Linked DNA regions of Homo sapiens: all the other regions are linked to region 1. Evidence: promoter capture Hi-C in 16 types of primary human blood cells and fetal thymus (Javierre and others, 2016). All regions are on one chromosome and are shown on one strand. Each heading gives the region's core, a stretch centred on a gene start or on the middle of the fragment in contact. The rest is flanking DNA. Distances are from core to core; before and after follow the strand shown.

Evidence for each region. Contacts are between HindIII fragments. The CHiCAGO score rates a contact against its expected background, and 5 or more counts as called.
Region 2: a contact is called between the fragment with the promoter of C9orf40 here and the fragment with the promoter of RNF20 in region 1, in 2 of 17 cell types (fetal thymus and total B cells). The highest score is 14.5, in fetal thymus.
Region 3: a contact is called between the fragment with the promoter of TLE4 here and the fragment with the promoter of RNF20 in region 1, in 2 of 17 cell types (non-activated CD4 T cells and activated CD4 T cells). The highest score is 7.3, in non-activated CD4 T cells.

The regions. Positions count from the first base shown.
Region 1 is chr9:101,531,714-101,535,790 of GRCh38, forward strand. RNF20 (ring finger protein 20) reads left to right here and starts at 2,140. Exons shown (of 20, transcript NM_019592.7): 1 at 2,140-2,201; 2 at 3,685-3,839. The coding sequence starts at 3,711. It also overlaps a transcript of PGAP4 not described here. RefSeq lists an enhancer at 1,882-2,011. The HindIII fragment of the contact is 1,893 bases long and covers 2,019-3,911 here.
Region 2 is chr9:74,950,902-74,954,978 of GRCh38, forward strand. C9orf40 (chromosome 9 open reading frame 40) reads right to left here and starts at 2,011. Exons shown (of 2, transcript NM_017998.3): 1 at 1,285-2,011. The coding sequence starts at 1,710. It overlaps CARNMT1-AS1 (CARNMT1 antisense RNA 1), which reads left to right and starts at 2,064. Exons shown (of 5, transcript NR_121183.1): 1 at 2,064-2,216. RefSeq lists an enhancer at 903-972 and silencers at 1,303-1,512, 1,783-1,992. The HindIII fragment of the contact is 1,820 bases long and covers 753-2,572 here.
Region 3 is chr9:79,569,796-79,573,872 of GRCh38, forward strand. TLE4 (TLE family member 4, transcriptional corepressor) reads left to right here and starts at 2,170. Exons shown (of 20, transcript NM_007005.6): 1 at 2,170-3,040; 2 at 3,894-3,991. The coding sequence starts at 2,996. RefSeq lists silencers at 642-691, 2,602-2,721, 2,782-2,941, 3,052-3,521, 3,542-3,781 and enhancers at 2,052-2,181, 2,192-2,241, 2,282-2,371, 3,099-3,711. The HindIII fragment of the contact is 12,449 bases long and covers 1-4,077 here.

The DNA of each region.
Region 1 (4,077 bases), core at 890-3,389:
AATGGAATCAAAGTGCTATATGGATACATGAAAAAAATCCTGGTTCTGCTAAGGTGAGGGAAGGGGAATAGCTGTTGGGTAGATCACCAATAATGTCCACCAGACACTTACGTAGTACCAGCAATTGATTTATCACAATGTAACACACAAGTGATGATACTCAAATTAAACTATACTAGTGCTAAGGAACCAGTAAAGATTAGTGGGGATTATGGTAAACAAGAATAACATGATCTATTAATAAAAGAGAGCCACGCCAAGCGTGGTGGCTCATTGCCAGTAGCTGTGGCTCAGGCCTGTAATCTCAGCACTTTGGGAGGCTGAGGTGGATGGATCGTCCGAGGTCAGGAGTTTGAGACCGGCCTAGCCAACATGGCGAAACCCCATCTCTACTAAAAATACAAAAATTAGCCAGGTGTGGTGGCGTGTGCCTGTGATCCCACCCACTTGGGAGGCTGAGGCATGGGAATTGCTTGAACCTGTGAGGTGGAGTTTGCAGTGAGCCGAGATTGTGCCACTGCACTCCAGCCTGGGTGACAGAGTAAGACTCTGTCTCGAAAAAAAGAAAAAAAAAAAAAAAGAAGAAGCCACTACTTTGCTCTAAGCAATGTGACCATGCAAAAATATAACCCTTCTGTTGCAAGATCATCAACATTTTTTAGAGAAACTGATAATTTGGATTTTTATGTAAAATAGCCATATTTTAAATGTTGGCAACTAAGTTCATTTTTGTTCTTGTTTTTAACCACGCAGGACAGCCAATACTGTCTAAAATAAACAAAGCATAACTGTTGGCTAAATGCAGTCTGTGAACCTCTAGTTTTCTGGGCTAGAAAAACCATTACTTGCCATTCAGTAGTTCTATGAATGAAAGGCTTGCTAAGAGTAGAGGAACCAAAGAAGATGAGAGAATGAGTGTCATTGTCTCATACAATGCTTTTCGGCAGGTGTGTCCCCACTCACATGTTCTCAGGCTCCCACTTCACGGAATGAAATGTGAAGTCCACTTGGGGCCAGTTAATTCTTTCCAAGATAGTCAAGGTGTTCCACTGCCAGGCACCAGGAACACTTGTTTCCCTGGTGTTGACCATCTTACTTCATTTACAGGTAAGCCCTAGCAGGTACAGGGACAAAAGTCTTCACACTAACAGAAATCCAGTGTAGATTAGCTTCTTTTTTTCCCAAGATGCCTAAATTCTATTTTTTAAAAAAGATATAGCGATCATTCTTCCATTTCTAGACCCTTAGCTGACGTCATTAGGTAGTTTATCATAGTTCTGCGAGACATACAGCTTTTCATTAATAGGTTAGATTAATTACCGTCCTATCATTAAAACGCATTTAGTTTAACTGAATGGAAAATAGCAGTTTGTCATAAACTTAAAAAAAAAAATCAATGCTTAATTAGCTTAAAATAGACTAGTACTGAGATCAGAGACTGATTGGCGTTTATCTTTTCCCTGGACAATTTCTTGTTCCCAAAAAAGCACAAGGGCAGTAGTTGTCACTCCTGCTTACGCATTAGAATCTAGTGGATGGAAATGCGGGGTTTGGGGGGAGGAGATGAGGGGAACGCTTTTTTAAAAAAGCTTTTGTCCAGGCCAAGTGATTCTAATGTGTAGACAGGGCAGAATACCGCTCCCTGTGCGGGGGAAAAAATCCCCAACATCTGAAATTCCTCAAATCCCTCAGATTCTCTCCAGAACTCTTCATTTCAGCACGTAGGGGTACCAACGAACAATTTTCTGAGGTGTCTGAGGCTAGTCATGTCCCCGGAGATTGACGGGACCGTCAGCCAATCGGCCGTCTGAACGAGTGATGGCAACCCCAATGACAAGCAACAGAATGAGGAACTTTATCCCCGCAGAAAGACCAGATCGCAGTAGCAAAGGTCAACAAGTCAACAAAAGCCAAGGGCTCTCCGTCAGGCATCAGCGAGGCCCGAGTACTCTTAGAGGTCGTAGCCAGGAGAGGGTCCCGCGCTTGCCCAGCGTTGCTAGGGAGGCGGCGCTTGCTCAAGCTTCTCGTGCCCTCTCCGTACGTCACTTCCGCCCGGCGGGGTCTCATAGTCCTATGGGCTGGGTTGAAGCCACTTCCTTTTTTCTTTCCCTTTTTCCTCTCCGTGGCCCCGCCTCCCGGAAGTTCTGCCTTGTCTCCGCCGCGGGTCAGGGGTGAGAGCTGGAATCTCTGCACGGGCCTTGGTGAGTAACTGCTGCGAGTTCTGTTCCCGCGCGGCGCCAGTTCAAAGAACTTAGGTTAGATCACGCTTAGGGCCCAACAGGACTGTGCCAGGCCTCAGGAGTCTCCACCCTCTCCAGTTTTGGGGCCGTCAGTCTCCTGGGCCTGCAATTATCCACGCTGAGGCTGAGGTCTTTGGCTTTTAGCGAGTTGGATTGCAGCCTTGTTCTGCTTCTGTGTCTTCTCTCTCCAGGCGAGGTCCTACTGAGGTTGTTGCCAGCGATAGTCCTCTCCTGGAGCTTGAATTGGAAGCAGAGTAGTCTTGTTAGTCTCGGTGATGGCTGCGTTGTTTCCTGAAGTAGCCAAAGTGCTTTAGCATCCATTCCGCCTCCTTTGAGCACCCTGGGAGGTAGGCAGGGCAGACGAAAAATATATTCGTTAATATTGTGCAGTTGAGGAAACTGAAGCTCTTGGCGAATTCACTGTTTCAAAGCAACACGGCCTCTAACAGGCAGAACTGAAATTCGCACCCAGGTCTAACTAACGTAGGGTTGCATAAAACAGTGGAGAGAGCGTTTGGAAATAGGGAAAACACTGCAAACGTTAAAGAAGAGCTGGGGTTTCTGAGTGCTTACTTTGTGTTCGGCTTTGTGCCAAATTCTTTCTATAATTATATCATCCATTTTATTTTATAATAAGCATAGGAAGTATATACTGTGGTTATTTATTCCTGGGTTAGGAAACTGAGGCTTAGAGATGATAACTGACTTGTCTAGTACTAATGACTTTAGTAGGCATTTCACAGATCTCTTTCAGCTCTGTGATTCTTTCAACACTGTAGTATTAACTTCTGGCATAATCAAACTGCCCTTTTCTGATTTTGGCATTACAGGAAGAGAGATTCCAGAACTTTATTTTTGGTCTCTTCACCCTTTGCCCATTGTCTCATTTCTTATCACCATTCTTATCACCATCCTATTTAGAAATTTATAGTCATGTAAATTTAGCCTTGACTTTCTTTTTTTTTTTTTTTTGAGACGGAGTCCCGCTCTGTTGCCCAGGCTGGAGTGCTGTGGTGCGATCTCGGCTCACTGCAAGCTCCGCCTCCCGGGTTCAAGTGATTCTCCTGCCTTAGCCTCCCGAGTAGCTGGGACTACCGGCGCCCGCCACCACGCCTGGCTAATTTTTTGTATTTTTAGTAGAGACGGGGTTTCACCGTGTTAGGCAGGATGGTCTCGATCTTCTGACCTCTTGATCCGCCCGCCTCGGCCTCCCAAAGTGCTGGGATTACAGACATGAGCCACCGCGCCCGGCCCGCCTTGACTTTTACTCTACAATTTAATTTTTTTTTTTTTTCCTCAAAGAGAAATATGGAGATGGTTGTGGAATTAATGGATCCAGGTTAAAGGGTTGGCCAGAAAAGTTGCTAGTTTTTACTCTATTGTTTTACTCTATTGTTGCTTTGCTTACATATATTATGTCAGTTTCTGCCTTTTTTTCTATCAGGAAAACGACTGTCTTCTTCTGCCAAAATGTCAGGAATTGGAAATAAAAGAGCAGCTGGAGAACCTGGCACCTCCATGCCTCCTGAGAAGAAGGCAGCTGTTGAAGATTCAGGGACCACAGTGGAAACAATTAAGCTAGGAGGTGTCTCTTCAACGGTATGAGGAAACAGTGCCATGAAAGTGTGCTTGTCTTCTGTCAGTTGCAACTTGAAACTAAAAATTCATGGAAGCTTTCTGGAGTATGGGGAAGCTATTTGAAAAGAAGAGGGAAATAAAACAGGCTGAAAGTAGGTAAAATGATGTGGTAGTCAGTTCTAGAGGAGAGGTAGATTGATAGTTGTTCTTTGTTTTCAAGGTGTACTTATATTCTTTCGAGAATCTGGGAAGGTGGTGC
Region 2 (4,077 bases), core at 761-3,260, about 27 Mb before region 1:
CTCCAAAAACATAATTTAAAATTTTCTAGTAGCTGTATTTAAAAAGTAAAAGAAACTTCTGGTATTAATTTTAATATATTTTCTTCAATATAGCCAAGTTATTTCATGTGTAATCAATATAAAATTGAGCTATTTTATCTTCATTTATTAAATCCACGAAATTTCGTGTATATTTTAAACTTAGAGCACATTTCCATTTGGACTAGTCACGTTTCAAGTGTTCTTACCGGCTAGCGGCCGGGCAGCAGAGATCTAGGCAAACCGAGGCATACCTAGATCTTCTCAGGATTCTTACATGCAGAGATGAGGCAGGCTCATGTCTTGAATAAAAACCCGCCAATGATTCTCATATACGCCTTAAGGCCCAAATTAATTTTCTTTTTTCTTTCTTTTCTTTTCTTTTTTTTTGAGACAGCGTCTCACTCTGTGGCCCAGGCTGGAGTGCACTGGCCCAATCTCAGCTCACTGCAACCGCCATCTCCCAGGTTAAAGTGATTCTTGTGCCTCAGCCTCCCGAGTAGCTGTGATTACGGGCATACACCACCACACCCAGCTAGTTTTTGTGTTTTAATAGAGACAGAGTTTCACCCTATTGGCCAGGCTGGTCTCGAACTCCCGACCTCAGGTGATCCACCCGCCGTGGCCTCCCAAAGTCCTGGGATTCCAGGCGTGAGACACCACGCCCCGCCCCCAAATTAATTTTCAATGATACTTTTGCCTAGGATCAGATTTAACACTATGAGTTAAAACAAAGCTTTGACCAAGGTACGGTGGTCCATCCTTTTCTCCAGAAGCTGTACCAGCCGGTAGGACGTTCAATTAATCAATGGCTACCACACTGGTCTCCCTCTAGAAAAAGAACTCTATCCCGAATTCTAGACTAATCATCGTTAAACCCAGGAAGGCCCTCTACACCTTTATCTGTCGTTTGTCTTTGGGCTGAACCTATGCCCTGACGGTCTGCGTTCTCGCCATGCTCACAGCCCGCCACGACCCACGGTCCCGTTTCCCTTTTACGGAGCGCGGCGCTGACGCCGCAAGGCCACTTCTATCGCTCCCGACCACGGTCTGTTTCCCCCTCGCCCAGCCCAGTGCTTTCTGCCCATCGGACTCTCGGGGTGTGCTTCTGGCGGTCGGCGTCCTCTCCCGGAGCGGTGACCCCTTCTTTCAACCCCCTCAGGCGTCTTAACCTACACAAGTCATGAGTGGGAACCGGGGCGTTTTGTGTGTGTGGGGAAAAGGCAAGCCCCTTCGCCCCTCAGCCCACCCGCCCCCAGCCCCTACCTGGCGCGATGCGACCCCCCAGTCTCCCCGCGGGGGTCCTGCGCGCCCCGCCCCGTCGTCGCCACCGCCCCCCGGGAGCCGGGCGCCCGGGAGCTCCTCCCCCGGCCCCGGCAGTACGGGCGGCGGCGGCAGCGGCGGATCGCCTGTCTCCAGACCGTGGTCCTCACGCTCCTGGCCGCTCGGGGCGCTGTTGTCCCCGCTGTCACGGCGCTTGCTGGGCGAAGCCGAGGGCTCTGCCATGGTCCCTGCGTCGATTTTGCGCTTTCGGTGCTGCTCTGGGACGCCGAGGAGCTGCCCAGCATGCGCGACCCCGGGCGGCCGGATCCAGAGAGGCGGTGGCGGCGGCTGCTCAGCGAAGTCGCAAAGCAGGAGCCGCTTCCAAGGCACGTGGAACGTCACCGGCTCGGCCGCACGCCGCTTGGCCATGGGCCCAGAGGCTCGGGCGGAGCCCGCCAGGCGCGGGAGACCGAGTGCCGATAGCTGCGGGGGGCGAAGAGCGAGGACTGAGCGCGTGAGAGAGGGACAGGCCGAAGTCGGGCGAGGAGGCGACAGGACGCTGGAGGGGGTAGGGCGGGGCAGCTCGCGCAGGGCCTAGGGCTGGGGCTCCGGCTCGGAGGCAGCTCCCGCGCTCAGCCCTCGCCGCCGCCGAGATGCGGCCCGGACGTTGAGAAGCAACCGCGAAGCGGCGGAGATTCGAACCTGCGCACAACGTGCGCGCGCGCACTCTGTCTGGCCAGGCGGAGCCGCTGGTTGGTGGAGGCTCGCGGGGCGCGCTCCCGAGCGCCCTCGCGACCGGAAGTGCGCGCTCGGGGGTAGGCGGGAAGGCCGCGGCGGGATTAATTAAAGACCCGATCAAGCGGCCCGCAGAGGGGCGTGACCTTGTTTCCTCAGGAGTGTGGCGGTGGTCTTACTACTATGTTCGTTATAGCGCGGTACGTTCTAGACCCTTCTATAGGAAATTTAAAACCTTTAAAATGTGTATTTCCTTCCTCCAGTCAGTGACCACGGGGGCGTCTCCATGAGATTAAGACAAAGATTATAATAGAGTTCCAGACTATCCTGGGCAACATAGCAAGACCTCGTCTCTACAAAAAATCAAAAATAGGCCAGGCTTGTTGGCCTGCCCCTGTGGTCCCAGCTACTCGGGAGGCTGAGGAGGAAGATTCACTTGAGCCTGGGAGGTGGAGGCTGTAGTGAGCCAGAGATCGCACCACTACACTGCAGCCTGGGCAACAGAGCGAGATGCCGTCTCAAAAAAAAAAAAAAAAAAAAGGAAAAGGATAATACAAGCTTTAAATAAAACTAGTGTTTAAGAAGCTTCACAGTAGGTTGTTATTCAAAACAAAAGACTGAAGGGAGTCTGGGCTGAGGGAAGTAGCTAAAGCTAACAGAAAACACAAATCGAAGTGTATGTTTTGCATGTTTTGCGCAGCTGCTGTGGAAGGTGAAGCAGGCCCTACATTCCTGGAAGATCTCTTGATTAAAAACTTATGGAGGAAGTTACAGACAAAATGTGCAGCTCATCCAAAATAGCTGAGTAGTTGGCAAGAACCAAGCCTGAAGCGCAGCTGTCCTTTCTAACTGAAACCTAAAATTGTTGGGCTCTTAATTAATGTTGGAAGGCTGAGTTCCCTGCTTACTATGGGCGGTGGTCAGATCAAGATTCTATGGCCATTACAGCAAAATAGTGTTGTCAGGTGAAGTGAGGTGGAGACAATTGCAGTATATTTACTATTTTATTATTTTTATTTTTTATTTTGTTTGAGACAGGGTCTCTCTCGGCCACCTAGGCGGGAGTGCAGTGGTGCCATCACGGCTCACTGCAGCCGGGCCCCACTGAGCTCAAGCGATCTCCTGTCTGGGCCTCCCAAAGTGCTTGGTTTATAGGTGTGAGCCACCGCATCTGGTCGTATTTACTATTTTAATAGTTTGATAAAGACAGTAACCAAGTAAGCAGAAATGGAAGGAAGAAAATAAGACTATTACCAGTGCTTTGAAGGGAAAAACTATCATCCTCTGTAGAAAAAGTGTGCAAGAAAGATAATTCTATTTTAGTGCTAGGTACTATCTCAGTACTAATTTACCCTGTACCCCTGCATCTCAAGGTGGTTGTGAGAGGACAAGTTAATTATTAGTTATTAACAAGCACAGAAATGTACCAAGTTAGGGTAGTAAGCAATAGCTTTTCTGTTTGGTTTTTACTTTTCTTGTTTGAAATTGGTAACCGGCCGGGTGCGGTGGCTCACGTCTTTAATCCCAGCACTTTTGGGAAGATGAGGTGCACAGATCACCTGAGCCCAGGAGTTCCATACCAGCCTGGCCAACATGGTGAAACCCCATCTCTACAGAAAATACAAAAATTAGCCAGAGGTGGTGCCTTGCACCTGTAGTCCCAGGGAGGCTGAGGTGGGAGGATCGCTTGAACCCTGGAGGCAGAGGCCAAGATTGCACCACTGTACTTCCAGCCTGGGTGACAGTGTGAGACCCTGTCTCCAAAAAAAAAAAAATAAATTGAAAACCCGTCTGTCTCAAACAGAGGAAGAGTTTTGCCATTTTTAAATCAGCAGGAAAGATCTTAATCGTAGTCATCAAGTGCTGTTTGAAAGGTTTTGAGTACCCCCAAAATAATAAGTTTAGCTAATGGTTGGTTCTTTTGTGTTCCTCTTTACAAACGCTCATTTTTTCAAAATTGTGAAACTTATCATATATGCAAAAGGTTGTATAAAATACACATGTAGTTAAAAGAATGATAGTAAGACATACAGCATTCTGTTTCAGAAATAGAATACTACC
Region 3 (4,077 bases), core at 920-3,419, about 22 Mb before region 1:
ATTATAAATTATTGAGCTGCAGTTTTTTCACATTAATTTTTTCAAAATGCCACATATATGTGTACTTACAGCACATCTCATTTTGAATTGGACACATTTCAAGTGCTTAACAGTCACATGTGGCTAGGTATGGAACAGCAGAGGTTCAGAAAACTGTCAAAAGGACTTCTCTGTCCTCTTATTTTGGGGATGGAGGCGAAAATATTTGCCGAATTGAAACATTCTGTGAACTTTGGCTCTGGGTTTTTAGTATGAAATTAGAGGCAGGTGAAGACCACCATAGCCTTCCTTTGCACCAGCTCACTACAGTGGCCAGAACGGAAGGAGGTTCACAGAACGTGCTAGGTTGGACATTAAGTCACCGAGTCATCCACTGAGGAAAGGGATATCATTAAGAAGAATAGTTTTCCACTAACGCCGAACCGGCGGCACCATCTCAACCAACAGGTCAAGTTACAGTAGGCAAGCACGCATAGAAATAAACGTCTAAAACCCAGCCTGTTACATTAGCCAACACTCTTCTTGACTTTTTCCGAATTTTTTCCCTGTCCCCAAGATTAGCCGCTCGCTAGAAAAGACTGCGAGCCTCAGCAGCCTCCCCTTGAACTGGGGCGCTGCCTCCAGCTGGACACGGACTAAGGATGGAAAGGCGCACTGACGGAGGCCGCCCCCATTTCCCAGGCCCCTCCCTAGGGGTGCCCCTCCTCAGCCATGGCTGCCCCTTTCTCTCCTCCTCCAGCATCTGCCCCTGGGGCCACCCCCACCTTTCCGCCATCTCTCGGGCCCGCGTGGCACCCTGCTCTGTTTTTAACGGGGATAAACTTGACTTGCTTCTCCAAAGAGCGGGAAAAAGAGGCGCAGTCTTGGTACTGATCTGGGGGAGGGAACGTCCCAGGGCGCGCAGGGGCGTTTTCTACCCGTGCCCCGTCGGCCTGCTCTGTTCAGTACCGACCGTGTTCGGGGTTCACGTGGCCCAGTCGGCAAAGTTTCTTTGGAGGTCCAGCGTCTCTGATTCCCGGATCTTCAGCCCCACCCGGAGCCCCCACGGTTACTGCCCCCCGCGACCCCCGATGGAGCGTCGGGATGCGCTTTCTCTCCGAGTGCCTCCGGGGGTGGAGGGAGGGAGGCCTGTTTCGGAACTAAATGGCAATCACAGCCCCCGCGGGGCTTGGAGGGACGAGCTCCCCGCCCACCCCGCGGCCCCGGCCCCAGCCAGCATCTCGCGACTCCATTTCTGGCTCTAAACAAGAACGGGGACCGAGTCGCGTTCACACGGAAAATTATGCCGGCTCCAGCGGCGCGTAAAATTGATGTGAACCGAACGAAGTAAGATCAGCGTGATCCTCCCCCTCTTGTCTCAACAGGGGTTTCGGCGCGTTACACAAGGCCGAGCTTGTCTCTTTAAGGAGACATTGGACCCTAATTAGTCCGCATTCCTGGCGCGGCTGCGGAGCGAGGGGCCGAAGGTGTCTGGGTTGGGAGACGGGTGGGCGGGAGGACGAGACTCGGAAGAAGATCTTTTGACCAGCCCCCAGGCTCACCGCTCCCTCCACCCTCTTTATTTTGCCGCCACCACCACCACCACCACCAACACCTAATTCTGAAGATGCAGCCAGGGCAGCAGCAACAGCAGCAGCCGCCGATTCTCCCAGCCCCACGTTACTTTGATTGACAGCTGAACAAATGTTTTCCCGGTTCGAACGCTCGCGCTAAGGAACGTCAGCCAAGGCGAAGCTCCGCCTTGGGCGGGCCATCTCCGCCCCGCCTCCGCCAACCTCATTCCTCTTCGTTAATTGGTCGGAGCTACAGGCGACGCCCGGCCCCCACGTGGGTTTCAGCTGGGTTGGCTCCTCCCCGCTGGCTTGCCATTTGTCAGCAGTGAAATGATGGGCACTAACACAGAACGGCGATTAATGTTCAGCCACCTCTGATTGGTTGGTGGAGACGCCTACCGCAACGGGGGTGGGCGGGGCGCTTGGAGAGCTCGCCAGAGCGCTCGCATGGCGGGCCGGTGATTGTAGTCAATCTGGCCGTATTCTCAGGCAGGGTCGCCCGGGGCGGACTACATCTCCCGGGATGCTGCGCGGCCGCCCCGCGGAAGATTGTGAATATGTATCAGAATGTTAATGATTAGCTGCTGCTAAATTTGGTCAAAGAAGTCACCTACACAGAGCGTGTTGTTAGAGCTGTGCTGAGCGGGTGTTTGGGTTGTTGGCTGCTTTCTTCCCCCTTTCTCACACACTTGTATATTATTTTGAGGTGGTGTTCGCAGAGTTTGAAAGGAGAGAGAATTAAAAAAAAAAGCCGCAAGCGTTTCACTCTTTTATTTTTATAATCCCCTTCAATTTGGGGTTAAAAAAAAGACAAGAAAACAGGAAGGAAGAGAAATAAGGAAATGAGATGTGGTAAAAGAAGCTAAAAGGTGCCTTTTAAAAGATCGTTGCTGTGAAGTGAAAAAAATCTCCAGAGAAACCAAAAAGCACCGCCGAGACCTCTTCCGAACCAAAGGAGTTTGTGTTTGCTTTTAGGGAAGAAGAAAGATCATTCATTCGGAGGAATAACAACCAATTAAAAGACAAATAAAAAAAGTTTGGAGTGGGACGCAGAGCGAGCGAGAGGAGCTGCCGGCGGGCGGTGGGGCGCGGAGCCCGCACTTTCCCGGCCGGGTGAGCGGCGGCCGCGGCGCCGGGCTCGGCGGGTGCGCCTCGGCGGAGCGAACGTCGGAGCGTTGCCTTGGGAGACGCGCGCCGGACAATGCCCGCGGCGGGCCAGTGACGCCCGCGGGGAATGCGGAGCGGCCCGGCAGCCGGCACCCAGCCGCCGCCGCGCGTTCCTGCCGCCCGTGTCACGCGAGACCCGGCGGGGGCCGGGACCGCCCGAGCCGCCCCTCAGACCGAGCCGGCCGCCTCCGCTGCCGCGGCCGCCTCCTCTTCGGGGTCATTAAAGCCAATGAGCCGCGCGCCTCTGCCGAGCGCAGCCAACTAAATCGGCTTGGATGATTCGCGACCTGAGCAAGATGTACCCGCAGACCAGACACCCAGTGAGTGCGGGCGGCGGGGCGCGGGCTCGCCGGGTGCTGGGGGATTCCCCGCGTCGCCCCCTGCGCACCGAGTTGTGTCTTTTGGCCGGAGGGGCGTGGAGAGCCGCCCGAAATCGGCGCCCCGCGCCGGGAGCAGCCCGCCCGCCATCACCCCCACCCCCCGGCGCGGTGGCCCTCGGAGGGGGTGCGGAGAGGCAATTGAGTTGTAGCCATTTTCTTATTGTTGTCTTTGAAGCCCCTGGAAGCCGCGCCGAGCCGTTTGCGGTCCCCGCGCCGCGACTCCTCGAGGGGGGGTGGCGAGCGATGAAGGAGGCGCGACTCCGCGCCCGGGCGGGGAGGGCGCCCTCGGCAGCGGCGCTGCTGGGCTGGCTGCGGTTTGGAAGTGCGGGGCGCCGGCCCCTCGCGCCGCGGGCCGCCGGGGCGAGCGGGCGAACGAACGAGCCGAGAGGGTGGCGGCCGCCTCCCTCCTCCCCCGGCCTGACCGCAGCCCGACGCCATGGCGCGGGTCCCCCCGACGGGCCAGTTTCGATTCCGGGTGAGGAGGGAGTGGGCGCGGCGCGCGGGTCCCTGGGTGCCTGTCTTTGGCCGGGGAGGGGAGACGGGACTCGAACCCTCGGGGTCCGGGGCGCGGGGGCCTGCGGGCGGGAGTATGCGGGGCCCCAGGACCACCTCGAAACCAGCCTCTGCCTGGGCTGTTGGGCGCGAGGAGGGTTGCGGGAGGAGAGTTTTAATCTCTCTTTGCTTGCGTGCGCGATGACCCTCACCCCCCGCTAACGCCGCATAGTAGGTTTTCTCCGTCTCCCTGCTTCGCCTGTGATGTGGGCTAATTAAATATTTTATTGTTGTTCTTCAGGCACCGCATCAGCCTGCTCAACCCTTTAAATTTACAATTTCCGAATCCTGTGATCGGATTAAGGAAGAGTTTCAGTTTTTACAGGCTCAATACCACAGGTAACGATATTGACTTTAGCTGATCCTTCTGTTTGCTTAGCTCTTGTCTCCCCGACAAATACACACAAACACTTACCCTCCTCCTT